Linked DNA regions of Homo sapiens: all the other regions are linked to region 2. Evidence: promoter capture Hi-C in 16 types of primary human blood cells and fetal thymus (Javierre and others, 2016). All regions are on one chromosome and are shown on one strand. The core of a region is centred on a gene start or on the middle of the fragment in contact, and the rest is flanking DNA. Distances in the headings are between cores, read along the strand shown. Region 1 overlaps ABCC4 (ATP binding cassette subfamily C member 4 (PEL blood group)). Region 2 holds the start of SOX21 (SRY-box transcription factor 21). Region 3 has its middle 27 kb from the start of LINC00557.

Region 1 (4,477 bases), core at 779-3,278, 460 kb before region 2:
GGAGTGCAGTGGTGCATTCTCAGCTCACTGCAGCCTCGACCTCCTGGGTTCAAGAGATTCTCCTGCCTCAGCCTCCCGGGTAGCTGTGACTACAGGCTAGCACCACCATGCCCAGCTCATTCAGTGTTTTTTTGAAGAGAGGGGGCTTTGCCATGTTGTCTAGGCTGGTCTCCCTATGTTGCCCAGGCTGGTCTCGAACTCCTGGGCTCAAGGGATCCACCCCCCCCCCCCCCCCCCCCCTGCCCTCGGCTTCCTGGAGTGCTGAGATTACAGGTGTGAGCCCCTACACCTGGCATACGACAATCTTTTTTTTTAAATGGAAGAAGTGGGCAGCAGAGATTGGAAAGGTCACTGAGGGCCGGGCTTGGCTGGAAGTAGCCTGTGGTCCTGCAGGCTGGTAAGGGTTTGTGGTGGCTGAGAGTAGGATTCAATTCCTTTGAAAGAAATAGTAGAAGCAGAGGTGTGCAGACGGGAAGGAGTGAGGCCTGTGGGAAGGACAGCAGGCAGGCACCTGTTCCTGTGGTGGGGGATAGAGAAGGTACCGTGAGAGAAAGCTCTGGAAGTCCTGTGTTGGCCAGCCAGGGCTGCCCTCACAAAATGCCACAGGCTGGGGGGCTTCCACAGCGGCAGGTTGTTTCTGCAGAGTTCTGGAGACTGCATGTGTGAGATCAATGCATCTGCAGGTGCAGCTCCTCCCGAGGGCTTTCTTGGCCTGCTGATGGCTGCCTTCTCACCCTTTTCTCCTTGTGTCTCTGTATCCAAATCTCCTCTTCCTGAAAAGACACCAGTCAGATTAGAGTAGGGCCCACCCTCATGGCCTCATTTTAGTGTAATTACTTCTCTAAAGGTTCTGTGTTGGCCGGGCACTGTGGCCCATGCCTGTAATCCCAGCACTTTGGGAAGCCGAGGCAGGCAGATCACCTGAGGAGTTCGAGACCAGCCTGGCCAACGTTGTGAAACCCCATCTCTACTAAAAATACAAAAATCAGTGGTGGATGGTGGCGGGTGCCTGTAATCCCAGCTACTCTGGAGGCTGAGGCAGGAGAATTGCTTGAACCCAGGAGGTGGAGGTTGCAGTGAGCCGAGATAGCGCCATTGCACTCCAGCCTGGATGACGAGTGAGATTCTGTCTCAAAAATAATAATAATAAAAAAAAAATTTTAAAAAAGGTTCTCTGTTCAATTTCTAAGGTGCTAGGGTGAGGGCTGGAACATAGGAACTTTGAGGGGAGCATGGTTCAGTCCATAACAAGTCCTGGATAGCAAAGTGGATAGCGAGTCGGCTGTGTGAGAGTAACTCATCTCTGGGCTCTGGATTCCAGGGGTTTGGACATGAAGTCATCCACTGAGCATGGGGCTCTACGTGGGTTCCTGAACGTTTACCCACCAGAGTGCGTATGCAAAATGTGCCTGGTATGGGATGATGAAGTGGATGTGTATGATGGTGATGGTTGCACAATGGTGTGTATGTACTTAGCGCGACCAAGCTATACAATTAAAAATGGTGTAAATGGTAAATGTTATGTCTTGTCTATTTTTCCACAACCAAAAAAAACGTGGATGGCAGCATTGAATCTTTCTGAATGCAGAGTGCAGGATAAGCTGGCACTTGGCATTGCCGCAGCAGTCTGATCAGAGCCTCGTTTCCTGCTCCCTCCTCATTGTGCCTTGATGAATTTTCCATTTCGCCGAGAAGGGCCTCTGTGGCTTGCTTGAGTCTTGCGCGAGGCCCCACCAGTTCTTTATCACTCAAACAACAATTCCCGGTGGGACGCTGTTTAGAGTCGCCGCGGGGAAGGAGGAAGGTATTTTCATTGCTGAGTATCAGTGTGCGTATCGCACAAGCTCCCTCAGATTTTCATTTGAACACAGGAGGTATTTATAAAGTCCTCTTGCACCTTTAAGGATTAATGACTTTGGATATATGCTTGTTAGAAGCAAGCTTGTTAAAATTGTTGTTTGCTAATCAGAATCACATTCTTTGGGGAAACTTAGGGCAGGGAGCACGAATGCAATTTAGGAAATCACTCAGCAGCAACTGGAGAATGTTCTCAACGAGTTAGAAAATTGGATTGAACAATATGCTATGAAAGATGGCGGTTGTGTTGAAGCTTAGAAATGTGAAGTGTTTTGTATTAAAAGTGAATGAATTACGCTTCTATTTGCCATTAACAGTTTTACTTCAATCATGAATATATATCGAGAGTTGTTAAGAGTTGTGTTTTACAACTATATGTTGCAAACACTAAGTGGATTTTATCACATACAAAAAGTGAGGGTCACTTAGATTAAAGGATGCTAATCCAATTTGTTGCCTGCTATAGATGTGGTTGTGTTCTAGAAAGCCTCAAATTCTCAGACCCCTGCCTCTTTGAGTCTCCTAATCAGATCTCCCACACTGTTGCCTACCTATTTGTCTTAGTCCATTCAGGCTGCTGATTCAAAATAGCATAAACTAGGTACTCCATATAAACAATAGAAAATTGTTTCTACAGTTCTGGAGGACAAGATTCAAGATCAAGGCGCCAGCAGTTTTGGTGCCTGGAGAGGGCTCACGCTCTGGTTCATAGACAGCTGTCTTGTCACTGTGGAAGGGGTACGGCAGCTTCCCTGGGCTGGCCCCTTCTACTAATACCATTTGTGTTGGCAGATTCTCATGAAATAGGCCTCACCTCCTAATACCATTACATTGGTGATTAGGGTTCAGTAGGAATTTGGGGAGGGCCACAAACATTCAGGCACAGCACTAGTTCACCTTCCCTCTTTCAGGTCCTCTAGGACTCCCCTACTTTTAAGCTACAGTTCTAAGTCCTCGAATGGCAAATTGCCCTTTGCAGTCTGCCCCATTCACCTTTCCAACCCTTGCCATGCAAGACCAGTCCTCCAGCCATGCACACTTCTTTGGGGTGCCTGGAAGGAGGTGTGAATTTCTCACGTCTGCCTGTCTGTAAGGGTATTTTTCCTGCCGTTGGACAACCAGGGATAGTTTGCCTGGGCAAAAGAGAAAAATGAAAGACACAGATCCTACCTCCTGCCTTTCTCTTCTGCTCCTCGGAGGGCATGGCGCTTTCTCTGTCTTCCCACAGCCCTCAATGAGCTGCTCTTGATCCACCTATGTGTTCTTCCCTCCAGCCCCCGCACTAGACTGCGAATGCATGAAGGTGCCTTTGCACAGCGCATTTGTGCCCCGGGACCATTGCACCTGCTGTATCTGCCAGGAATGCTTCCCCCAGATAGTCTCATGGCTCATACATCACCTCCTTGCAGAGAGGACTTTCCTGGCCACTCCCTCTAAAGTACAACCTTTGCCTGGCTGTCTCTTCATGGTTTACTTTACTATCCAATAGTGTGTTTTCTGTGTTTGTGTAGTGAGTGTCCCTACACGACTCAGGGTGTTGTCTGTTTGCTTGACCAGTGGATGTATCCTCATCACTTAGAGTAGTCCCTGGTACTTCGTCAGTGCTCAGCAAATGTATCTTAACTGAATGAATGAAGGTAGTGACTGTATCTGTCCCTCTCTCCCTCCCTCCATCCCTTCCTTCCTTTTTTGACAGAGTTTTGCCCTGTCACCCAGGCTGAAGTGCAATGGCATGATCACGGCCCACTGCAACTTCTACCTCCTGGGCTCAAGTGATCCTCCCGAGTAGCTGGGACTACAAGTGCACACCACCACTCCTGGCTAAGTTTCGTGTTTTTTTGTAGAGATGGGATCTCTCCATGTTGCCCAGACTGGCCTTTAACTCCTGGGTTCAAAAGATCCTCCTGCCTTAACCTCCCAAAGTGCTGGGATTATAGGTGTGAGCCACTGCACCAACTGACTATATCTTTCTCACTTGTGTCACCTCCAACATTGTATGTGTCAGCTCTTAATGTTGTCTTTTTTTTTTTTTTTTCCTTTTTGAGGCAGAGTCTCGCTCTGTTGCCCAGGCTGGAGTGCAGTGGCATGATCTTGGATCACTGCAGGCCTCCTGGGTTCCAGCAATTCTTGTGCCTCAGCCAGCCGAGTAGCTGGGATTACAGGCATGGGTGACCACATCCAGCTAATTTTTGTATTTTTAGTGGAGATGGGATTTCACCGTGTTGCTTGAACTCCCGACCTCAAGTGATCTGTCTGCCTCAGCCTTCCAAAGTGCTGGAATTATAGGCGTGAGCCCCCGTGGCTGGCCTCTTAATGTAGTCTTTATGTAGGATTAGAGTTAAATAGCTCATTGCTACATCAATCACTTATTATTTGTTTGTTTTATGGCATGACTGGAAGATTTTTACTCTTAATAATTTGGAAAGTATTTTTTGAGATTTGCCTAAGAAGCATAATTTAGAAAAAATTTCAAGCCATCAATTACAATGTTAGTGTAATTATTTCTATTATCTCATCTACAATGGAAGATGTTAGGAAGAAAACATTTTGAAACCTTTGAGTTGGCTGATACTGGACATAGCACCCATCAGATTTGATCATTAACATCTCCCTTTAGATA
Region 2 (4,574 bases), core at 812-3,311:
ATGAACTGAACATAAATCGTAGGAAGACTTAAAGAGTTAACCGTTTGTAGATGTTCCTACTTGCACATACCACAGGGCTAGGTCAAATCCAAACTGCCAAAGAAAGAAGGCAAGCAAGTTCTCCCTGAAGGGCAGGCCACCATGTGAATAAAACCTCCAGACAGATCATGTTCTAAATGTGCCGCAGCATACCAAAAAGTGAGGAAAATACGGAAACAGAATCATGCTGTTTGACTTCTGCATCGTGTTAACTATTTTTTTTAAAAAACTGCTCTAACTACTAAAGAAGGAAATTATGCTTAGCATAAAAATATTCCAGCACTGAGTGATTGGTACGTTTTACTTCTCTCTTCCAGGGAAACTACTTACACTTATTGATTTTAAACACCTTCACCTCAGCAGCGCATGTAAGTGAGACACTGTAAGTTAACTGTACCTTAAAGAGATCAGTATATAGATGGTTCTGGCGACCAAGATTACAACAAAAGACAAACAACACAGAATTTTTAAAGAGCTGAATAGTCAGTCAAGGATGCATACTCTCAGTCTGGGCTAGCTCTTTTTTGGAAAGGTTGCCAAGAATGTCCTTATTCCCTCCAGAGTTATTTTTCACTCCACTACCTCTGACTAGGTGCATCGCCAGTGCAAGAAAATGCGAGAAGCCTCTGTTTCTGTTGCAAGCAACACCTGGACCTCCAAGGAAAATGAGCACTTTCTTGCTAGGAACAGTCTCAAACATTTTCAAGGGTGAGTCTCCCCTTCTCCAGGTTTAACCCTCTTCCTCCGTAGCTGGAGAGGCTCTCCTACTCGTGCCCGCCGCCTTCTTCCTCCCGGCGAGGATTCCAGGGCCACAACCAGGGCAGCTGCACGCCAGGCCGGCCTGGGTAGCCGGGATGACACCAGGGTTTGCCAACGCCAAACAGGGCGCAGACTCCCCGGCGCGCTCCGGACTCTCCACTCGCCTAAACCTGCTCTCAAGTGAAAAGGAGTGGGAGGAGGAGGATTGGGAGGGGGCGGGGGGCGGAGGGGATCTGTTAATTCGAGGTCCTGGGGGTGTGGGAGCGGGAGGCGGCTCCGCTGATCCCTCCTCCCTCCCCGAGTCCTGGGCTCCACCTCCTCCGCAGGCCCCCAGATATACACACACAGCCGCGGCTGGACATGCACACCCAGTGCCGGCTCCGGGCGCGCACACATGCAGGTAGCCACACTCACCTGAGCCGGTGCAGAGGGCGGCCTGGGCTGGGAAGGGGCCCCCTGCGCCGCGGGAGTGGGGAGAGCGGGAGGTGCCACAGCGCGGACCTGCGAACTGAGGTGATGGCCCGTTTTCCTTAACTCTCCTGCAGCACCTCCGCCCCTGCGCCGGCTCGGCTCTGGCCACAGCAGCGAGGACAGAGGGGCCCCGGGCGCGGCGGACTCGCGGGCGCACGCTCCCAGGAGCGCGCCGAGAGGGGCGCCGCGGCGCAGGAAACTTGGGCGAAGTTAGTTGCAAGTGCCAGGCGGCTGCCGAGAAGAGCGAGGCGGGGACGCGGCCGGTGCCAGGCCTGCGGCGCCGCGTGGAGGCTGCGCTGCCCTCCGCGGCCGGCGAGCTCCGGGAGCCCTAAGTCGGCAGGCGCGCCTGAAGGGGCTCGGAGCGAACAGAGCCGGCATGGCCCAGGGGACGGCCGGACGCGGCTCCTCGGCGAGCCGGGAGAACTTCCTCTGAGGCCGGGCGACCAACGCTTGCTCAAGCCTCATCCACCCTCCTTCCTCGCCCCACCCGTCAGTCCAGCAGCGGGAGAGGAAGACTCGAGAGGCAGGTGCTGCGGGGGACAGCTCCCCCCTCCAAAAAAAAAAAATCACCCAGCCGATTGGGGGTTTCCCATCGGCGCACCCTGCCCGGAGCCAAGAAGACAGGCTGGTGCTGCTGTATTTGTATTTATATCCATTGCTGCGCTCTGCGTTCTCGTGGCACGCCTGGACACTCCTCCGCCTCCCCCTCCTCTTCCTCCTCCAGGGCCACCTCCCCGCCTTCCCCACCCCCATCTGCTTCTGTCAAATGAGAAAGTCACCGAGGAGAACCCAAACACTCCAGCCGCTGAGAGCCCCCTTTGGCACTTGGCAGCACGCGGCGGCGGGCTCCTCGGCTCAACTTCGAGGAGTCTCCGCGACGCAACTTTTGGGGACGCTTTGCATTTAAGAGAGAACGACCGAGGAGGAGGAGCGCTCTGCCCGGCCGCCGCTACCTGCGGGGAGCTCACCAGCAAACGCCACTGCAGACGAAGGACCCAAAGAACGTAAAGGGCAAACTGCCGCCGCGGGGAGGGGGCACCGCCGAGAAGTTAGAGTGTCCCAGAGACAACCTGCTCGAGCGCTCGGCCGGAGACACTAAGGCGGCCCGGGGCGCGGCGTGGCCCTGGGCTGGTCCCCCAGCCCCCTCCTCCGGGGCGGGAGCGACGCCGGGGCGCGACGAGCCCCGGCCGGCCGAGCGGGTCTCCGCGGGCAGCCAACATTGATTTCCTCCGGGCCGAGGGCGAGGGCCCGGGAGGCGGCGGGCTGCAGCCGCGGCAGGGCGAGAGCATGTCCAAGCCGGTGGACCACGTCAAGCGGCCCATGAACGCCTTCATGGTGTGGTCGCGGGCTCAGCGGCGCAAGATGGCCCAGGAGAACCCCAAGATGCACAACTCGGAGATCAGCAAGCGCTTGGGCGCCGAGTGGAAACTGCTCACAGAGTCGGAGAAGCGGCCGTTCATCGACGAGGCCAAGCGTCTACGCGCCATGCACATGAAGGAGCACCCCGACTACAAGTACCGGCCGCGGCGCAAGCCCAAGACGCTGCTCAAGAAGGACAAGTTCGCCTTCCCGGTGCCCTACGGCCTGGGCGGCGTGGCGGACGCCGAGCACCCTGCGCTCAAGGCGGGCGCCGGGCTGCACGCGGGGGCGGGCGGCGGCCTGGTGCCTGAGTCGCTGCTCGCCAATCCCGAGAAGGCGGCCGCGGCCGCCGCCGCTGCCGCCGCACGCGTCTTCTTCCCGCAGTCGGCCGCTGCCGCCGCCGCTGCCGCCGCCGCCGCCGCCGCGGGCAGCCCCTACTCGCTGCTCGACCTGGGCTCCAAAATGGCAGAGATCTCGTCGTCCTCGTCCGGCCTCCCGTACGCGTCGTCGCTGGGCTACCCGACCGCGGGCGCGGGCGCCTTCCACGGCGCGGCGGCGGCGGCTGCAGCGGCGGCCGCCGCCGCCGGGGGGCACACGCACTCGCACCCCAGCCCGGGCAACCCGGGCTACATGATCCCGTGCAACTGCAGCGCGTGGCCCAGCCCCGGGCTGCAGCCGCCGCTCGCCTACATCCTGCTGCCGGGCATGGGCAAGCCCCAGCTGGACCCCTACCCCGCGGCCTACGCTGCCGCGCTATGACCCCGCGGGGCCGCCTCGCGAGGACCGGTGTGCACACGTGTACATATGTATAGGTACGAGCGCTGCGGCCTCCCCGTGCGCCCTCCCGCGACCGGGGGCCCGGTTTGTATGTACATAGAATGTATAGGTGCCAGGTAGAGGCAGAGAGGCCAGGCGGGGCAGGAGTGGCCAAGCGCGCAAGGGCGCGGGCGAGCAGGCCTGTGAATTCGCAGGATCATTTCAGACCCGCACTTCGGCAGCCAACTCGAAAGCAGGCGGTTGTGTGCGGCAGCAGTTGGCGTTTGCTTTGCACTTCGGAACCTGTTGCGTTTTGACCCACGGAGGTGGAGGAGTAACTTTTTGACATGTTGGCCTTTCCAGTTTTGTTGGAAGTTTCATGGTCGGTTTTGTTTTTGTTTCTCATTCTTCTTCCTCGCCCCTCAGCCCCCCAACCCCCAACCCCCTCCCGGTCCGTGTTGCATGCACGCTGTTCAAATGTGAGGTCTGAAATGGCTGGCACACGGGAAAAGCTGCTTGTGTCATTCGTTTCTGGGAGTGGGATGGCTCTGAGCAGCCTCGCCTCCCTGTTTGTACTATTTGAACTTTGCAGATCTCTGTTCTCTCAAGCAGAACTCCCAACCAGATCCATTCTTGACCAGTGACCGGCTCGAATCTGGCCTTTTGTGTGAGATGATCACGGTTTCTTTTGTTTATCACGCCATTTGCAAATCAGAGCAAGAGCTCTTTCTCAAGGGCAAGAAACGCAAACAAGAAATATTTGTGAGATGAAAGTTGTCAATTGGATTTTCTTCCTAAACAAACAACAACAACAAACTACTAGAAGTCTCCCTGAGTCCACTCGCTTGGATTTCTGACACAGTTTACAAAAAAGGAAAAAGGCACTGCTCCTATTTTCCCTTATGGCTGAGTTCACCTTAAGATTGTAAATGTGTATATGTCAGTGAAAACATTGAGGCTTGGAAAATGTGTTATTTTCGTTGCCCTAAGTTTGAGTCGACTTTAGACTCAAAAACATTTTGAGCGAATATCAAAGTTAACTTTTAAAAATTGCGAAACTATTTCAGAATCGCAATTTTATCGAAGATTAAATCAGACTTTTTTGTCTGGTAATTATATATTTATTATTTAGCAAAACTGAAGAAAAAAAGCACAGAATTGTTTCAACAGATGTCTCTCATTTTCAGCTA
Region 3 (4,786 bases), core at 59-2,558, 280 kb before region 2:
ATAAACAAATCAAAACTTCAAAATGCATGTTTCAAAATGCATATTTTAAATATGTGCAGTTTATTTCATTTATGCCTCAACATAGTTGTTAAGGTAGATTCTAGTGGGAATATGCTGTATTTACTGAAAGGGGTGATCCAGGAAAGGTGTTCTAGATCAGCATTTGCAGAGAAATAGAGTTCATACATATTTCATAATAGTGATTTAAATGAGTAGCTGAGTGGTGCAGTGAAGCATAGGGTTTCCCCATTTTAATTAGGCTCTTTCATTTCTTAGGGTCAGGAGCCTTCTTGTACTGTGCACGCACAAGTGAGCTTGTTGCTCAAGTCTGCTCCCTGGTGCTGGGAGAGGATCTTTGTTGGTTGGTGTTAGGGAGAGCTTCTCTCTGTTGTGCCTTTTAATCACTCTTCTTTTCCATGGCTCAGACTGAACACTGGGTGGAGAAAGCCCTCCTGCCTCCAATGACCCGACTACTTCATACCCTCCCAGTCTCCCTGCAAAAGAAAGCTCAGGAGAGCACCACTCGTGCCCTCACTCCAACTCCTCCAGTGGATGGTTTGCTTGTCTCTGGTTTTGAGTGTTTATTCTGCTCTAGAAACATCTTCAGACCCACAGCAAAAGGGCTTTGGCTTAACTATCTTTGAATATGGCAGAAGAGTTGTTTTCACTTTTCCACCTTAAAAGTGTGTATATCTCTAAAGGTTTTAAAATATTGGAGAGTAGGAATAGGGGAAACAATTTTTGCTAGCCTCACCATTCAAATATAAGTGCAAATAACTTTCTAATTTTTTTCCACTTTTTGTTTCTATGTAAAGGCTTTTAATAGCATTGCCATTAAGCTATACATGCAGCTTTATTTCCTGCTTCTTCCCGTATTGTTACTCCCTGGCCACTCTTCTATGTTATTACACAAGCTTCATAAATATTATCTTTAATGGCTGCGTAATACTCCATTGAGTGGATATGTCATTGTTAATCATGGCCCTATTAGCAGAGAGTTTAAAACACAGTTAGAAGGGTGACTTCACACAAGACAGATTTTACTCAAGATATAAAAGGAGGACTGACCTATGGAAAGATCCCTGGACTTGGTGTGGGCCTGAGATTTTGGTTCAAGCTGACTTACTAGCTGTTGACTTTTAACATGTGTCATTGCTTAACTATGGCCTCTGCTTACTCACCTATAAATCACAGATCTAGTTAGCTGTTTACTGTTCCTTCCAGCTTTTAAAGTCTGGGATTCTATGATCTACTAAACTGAAGTGCCTGATTTGGCCATCTAGGCTTTTAATGAATCCATTCATTCCTCAAACACCTGAAAAATAGTATGTACCTAAAAAGTTATTTATTTATTTATTTATTTGAGACAGAGTTTCACCCTTGTTGCCCAGGCTGGAGTGCTATGGCGCGATCTCGGCTTGCTGCAACCTCCACCTCCCAGGTTCAAGCAATTCTCCTGTCTCAGCTTCCCAAGTAGCTGCGATTACAGGCATGCACCACCACACCTGGCTAATTTTGTATTTTAGCAGAGATGGGGTTTCGCCATGTTGGCCAGAAATGTGAGAGAATAAATTTCCGTTGTTTCAAGCCATCAGATTCATGATCAATTGTTACAGTACCCTTAGGAAACTCATAAAGTGTTCCAGGACTGCTAGCTTGCTTCATGATCAGGACAGAAGGGGAAGACCAGAAAGGAAGCTTAGGGATCATTTTCAGGCAGAAGCAGAACCCTTTTGCAGTGGCCCAAACAACCCTAATCAACCAACTGTGGGAACTGTACTTATTATGATGACTGAATGGAAAATGATTATGTGCAAACGTTTTTCCAGGCCACACCCTCTACCTGGTGGGCATTTGAGGACAGAGTTACAGTGCGGAATGGACAGAGTTACAGTGCGGAATCTCTTGGCAAGCCTCCATTCAAAGTTTCTGGGACTCAATCATTCATACAGGAGAGGACTGCCCTCTCTCAGCACATCTACCTGCCTTGGCCTCCCAGAGTGCTGAGATTACAGGCATAAGCCACTGCGCCCGGCCAAAAGTTATTTTATATTGATTTGAATAGAAATAATCTGAATTAAATTGAGCCTCTTTCAGTAGACCTCTTCAGGAGGAAAACAATTTAATTCCTGTATTTATAGAAGTAAGTGTTTAGAAAGATCTGACTTGTTTCCTGCACATTCACCCAAGATAGTTTTAATTCATTCCATGTCACACCGTTGAAAACGGCCAAAGTCAAGACAGCAAGTTCTGTGAAAAGATCAAGCAACATCAAAGACCAGGTTGGCCAGGTGTGGTGGCTCTTGCTTATAATCTCAGCACTTTGGGAGGCTGAGGCGGGCAGATTGCTTGAGGCTAGGAGTTTGAGACCAGCCTGAACAACATAGCAAGACCCTGTCTCTAAAAAAAATAAAAATAAAAAAAAAAAAGCTGGATGTAGTGCATGCACCTGTAGTCCCAGCTGTTTGTTTTGGGAGGCTAAGGTGAGAGGATTGCTGGAGCCCAGGAGATTGAGGCTGCAGTGAGCTGTGATCACACCACTGCACTCCAGCCCTCCTGTCTGGGTGACAGAGCCCGACACTGGCAAAATATACATCTTATTAACATCTTCAATTAAACTGAATCTTTAGGCTTAGGAGGGCTCCTATGAATTACGTGGAGATCACTGGGTTCATTCCACACTTAACACTAAATTTGCAAGATAGTACGCCTCCAAAAAGAATAGAAGAGACTCCTGCCTGGATATTGGAAGCCTGATAAACAACTCCATTAATTAAAAGGTGTAGGTAATTAGCATGCATTATTACTATTACTTCCTATTCTATCTTTTTAAAATTTTTATTTATTTATTTATTTGCGACAGGGTCTCACTCTCTCACCCAGGCTGGAGTGCAGTGCCCCATCTCGGCTCACTGCAACCTCTGCCTCCCGGGTTCAAGTGATTCTCCTGCCTCAGCCTCCCAGGTAGCTGGGATTACAGGCCCCCACCACCATGTCCAGCTAATTTTTGTAGTTTTAGTAGAGACAGGGTTTTACCACGTTGGCCAGGCTGGTCTCGAACCCCTGACCTCAGGTTATCCACCCATCTTGGCCTCCCAAAGTGCTAGGATTACAGGTGTGAGCCACCATGCCCAGCCCTATCTTTTTATTTTTAATTTTTTAACAAATATTGTATATATTTGAGGTTTAGAACATGATGTTAAAATATACTTATTTAACAAAAATCCCTAACACAATATAATTGTATAACCTGGCTTCATCTTGCCAGGTTATACTTTCTGCTTCATCTGAGCTTTTTGTTTATTTTTTTAAACAGTAGTTTCTATTTGATATTTATTGAATAGTGTTATTAGAGAATAAGGGTAATCTCTATATAAGAACAAATCCAATCTTAATAGCATAATCACAACTTATAGAAATTTAAGATCCAGGGTAAATAATGCTTCAAAAGCAAAAACGTTAGTGTTAGAAATATAATACAATATAACTGTATTAACTTTAGTGCTGATGTGGTACATTAGGCTTCTAAACTTGTTTATCTTACATATCTGCTATTTTGTATCCTTTAAACTAGATCTCTCATTTCCTTCCTGTCCCTACCTGACACCCCTCTCATGATAACAACTCTCTCTCTCTCTGTGCATTTGAGTGCTTTAAAAAATATATATATTCCACATATAAGTGAGATAATGCAATATTTTTCTTTCTGTGTCTGATTTATTTCACTTAACATAATGTCCTCCAGATCCATCCATGTGGTGGCAAATGGCAGACTCTCCTTTTTTGAAGCTGAATAATATTCCATTGTGCATATATACCACATTTAAAAATCTTCGCATCTATACAGATGGCTATTCTCAAAAAGACAAGAGATAACAAATGGTGAGGGTCTGGAGAAAAGGGAACCCTAATACACTGTTGAGGGGAACATAGATTGCTGCATCCGTTATGGGAAACAGTATGGATGTTCCTAAGGAAATGAAAAACAGAACTGCCATACCACCCAGTGAGCCTTCTGGGCACATACCGAATGGAGAGGAAATCACCACCTCATAAACATATCTGCATTTCCATGCTCATTGCAGCGTGTTTCATAATAGCCAAGACATGGAAACAACTTAAATATTCATGGAAGTATGAGTGGATACTCTTTGTATTCTCTTTTATTTCTCTTTAATTATCTCTTTAACTTACATTTGCTTCATCTTGCCAGGTTATACTTTCTGCTTCATCTGAGCTTTTTATTTATTTTTTAAACAGCAGTTTCTATTTGATATTTATTAAATAGTGTTATTAGAGAATAAGGGTAATCTCTATATAAGAACAAATCCAATCTTAGTAGCATAATCACTACTTACAGAAATTTAAGATCCAGGGTAAATAATGCTTCAAAAGCAAAAACATTAGTGTTAGGAATATAAATCAATATATGCAAATGGCTATTTAACCAATACCCCATGTGATACTACCTAATGGTTAGAAATTTCATGTAGAATATCACAGCATGGTTAAAACAACAATGACAAAACAGAATAAGAAAATATACCAAATGATGGCATGTCTTTGGTGGTCCTCAACAGAAATTAAGAGGTGGTGGGAAAAAATCAAAGTAAAAATACATTTTTTCCCAATTGTTTTATCATTTTAGTAAAGCATTTTAGTAAACTGAAATGGAATTAAATTTAGTGTAAAAATACAACAATCTCATTCTCTTTTAGTTTTTAGTTTACTCTTTATGAAAGATAGAAGCTTTGGAAAATTGAACTTATTAAATCACTATGAAAGT

What was found. Contacts are between HindIII fragments. The CHiCAGO score rates a contact against its expected background, and 5 or more counts as called.
Region 1: a fragment that was not itself captured here is called in contact with the fragment with the promoter of SOX21 in region 2 in 1 of 17 cell types (endothelial precursors); the score reaches 6.8 in endothelial precursors.
Region 3: a contact is called between a fragment that was not itself captured here and the fragment with the promoter of SOX21 in region 2, in 1 of 17 cell types (endothelial precursors). The highest score is 5.3, in endothelial precursors.

What each region holds. Positions count from the first base shown.
Region 1 is chr13:95,171,988-95,176,464 of GRCh38, reverse strand. The region is part of intron 13 of ABCC4 (ATP binding cassette subfamily C member 4 (PEL blood group)); the gene reads left to right. Among named protein-coding and RNA genes, the nearest start is that of SNORD13G, 36 kb to the left of the region's middle. RefSeq lists an enhancer at 1,521-2,022. The HindIII fragment of the contact is 169 bases long and covers 1,944-2,112 here.
Region 2 is chr13:94,710,032-94,714,605 of GRCh38, reverse strand. It overlaps SOX21 (SRY-box transcription factor 21), which reads left to right and starts at 2,061. Exons shown (of 1, transcript NM_007084.4): 1 at 2,061-4,574. The coding sequence starts at 2,557. The coding sequence ends at 3,387. It overlaps SOX21-AS1 (SOX21 antisense RNA 1), which reads right to left and starts at 1,890. Exons shown (of 2, transcript NR_046514.1): 1 at 1,213-1,890; 2 at 1-968. LOC112268114 (a long non-coding RNA gene) reads left to right here and starts at 1,163. Exons shown (of 2, transcript NR_158368.1): 1 at 1,163-1,198; 2 at 1,344-1,886. RefSeq lists an enhancer at 836-1,337. The HindIII fragment of the contact is 9,809 bases long and covers 1-4,574 here.
Region 3 is chr13:94,984,403-94,989,188 of GRCh38, reverse strand. No RefSeq gene overlaps it. Among named protein-coding and RNA genes, the nearest start is that of LINC00557, 27 kb to the right of the region's middle. The HindIII fragment of the contact is 784 bases long and covers 917-1,700 here.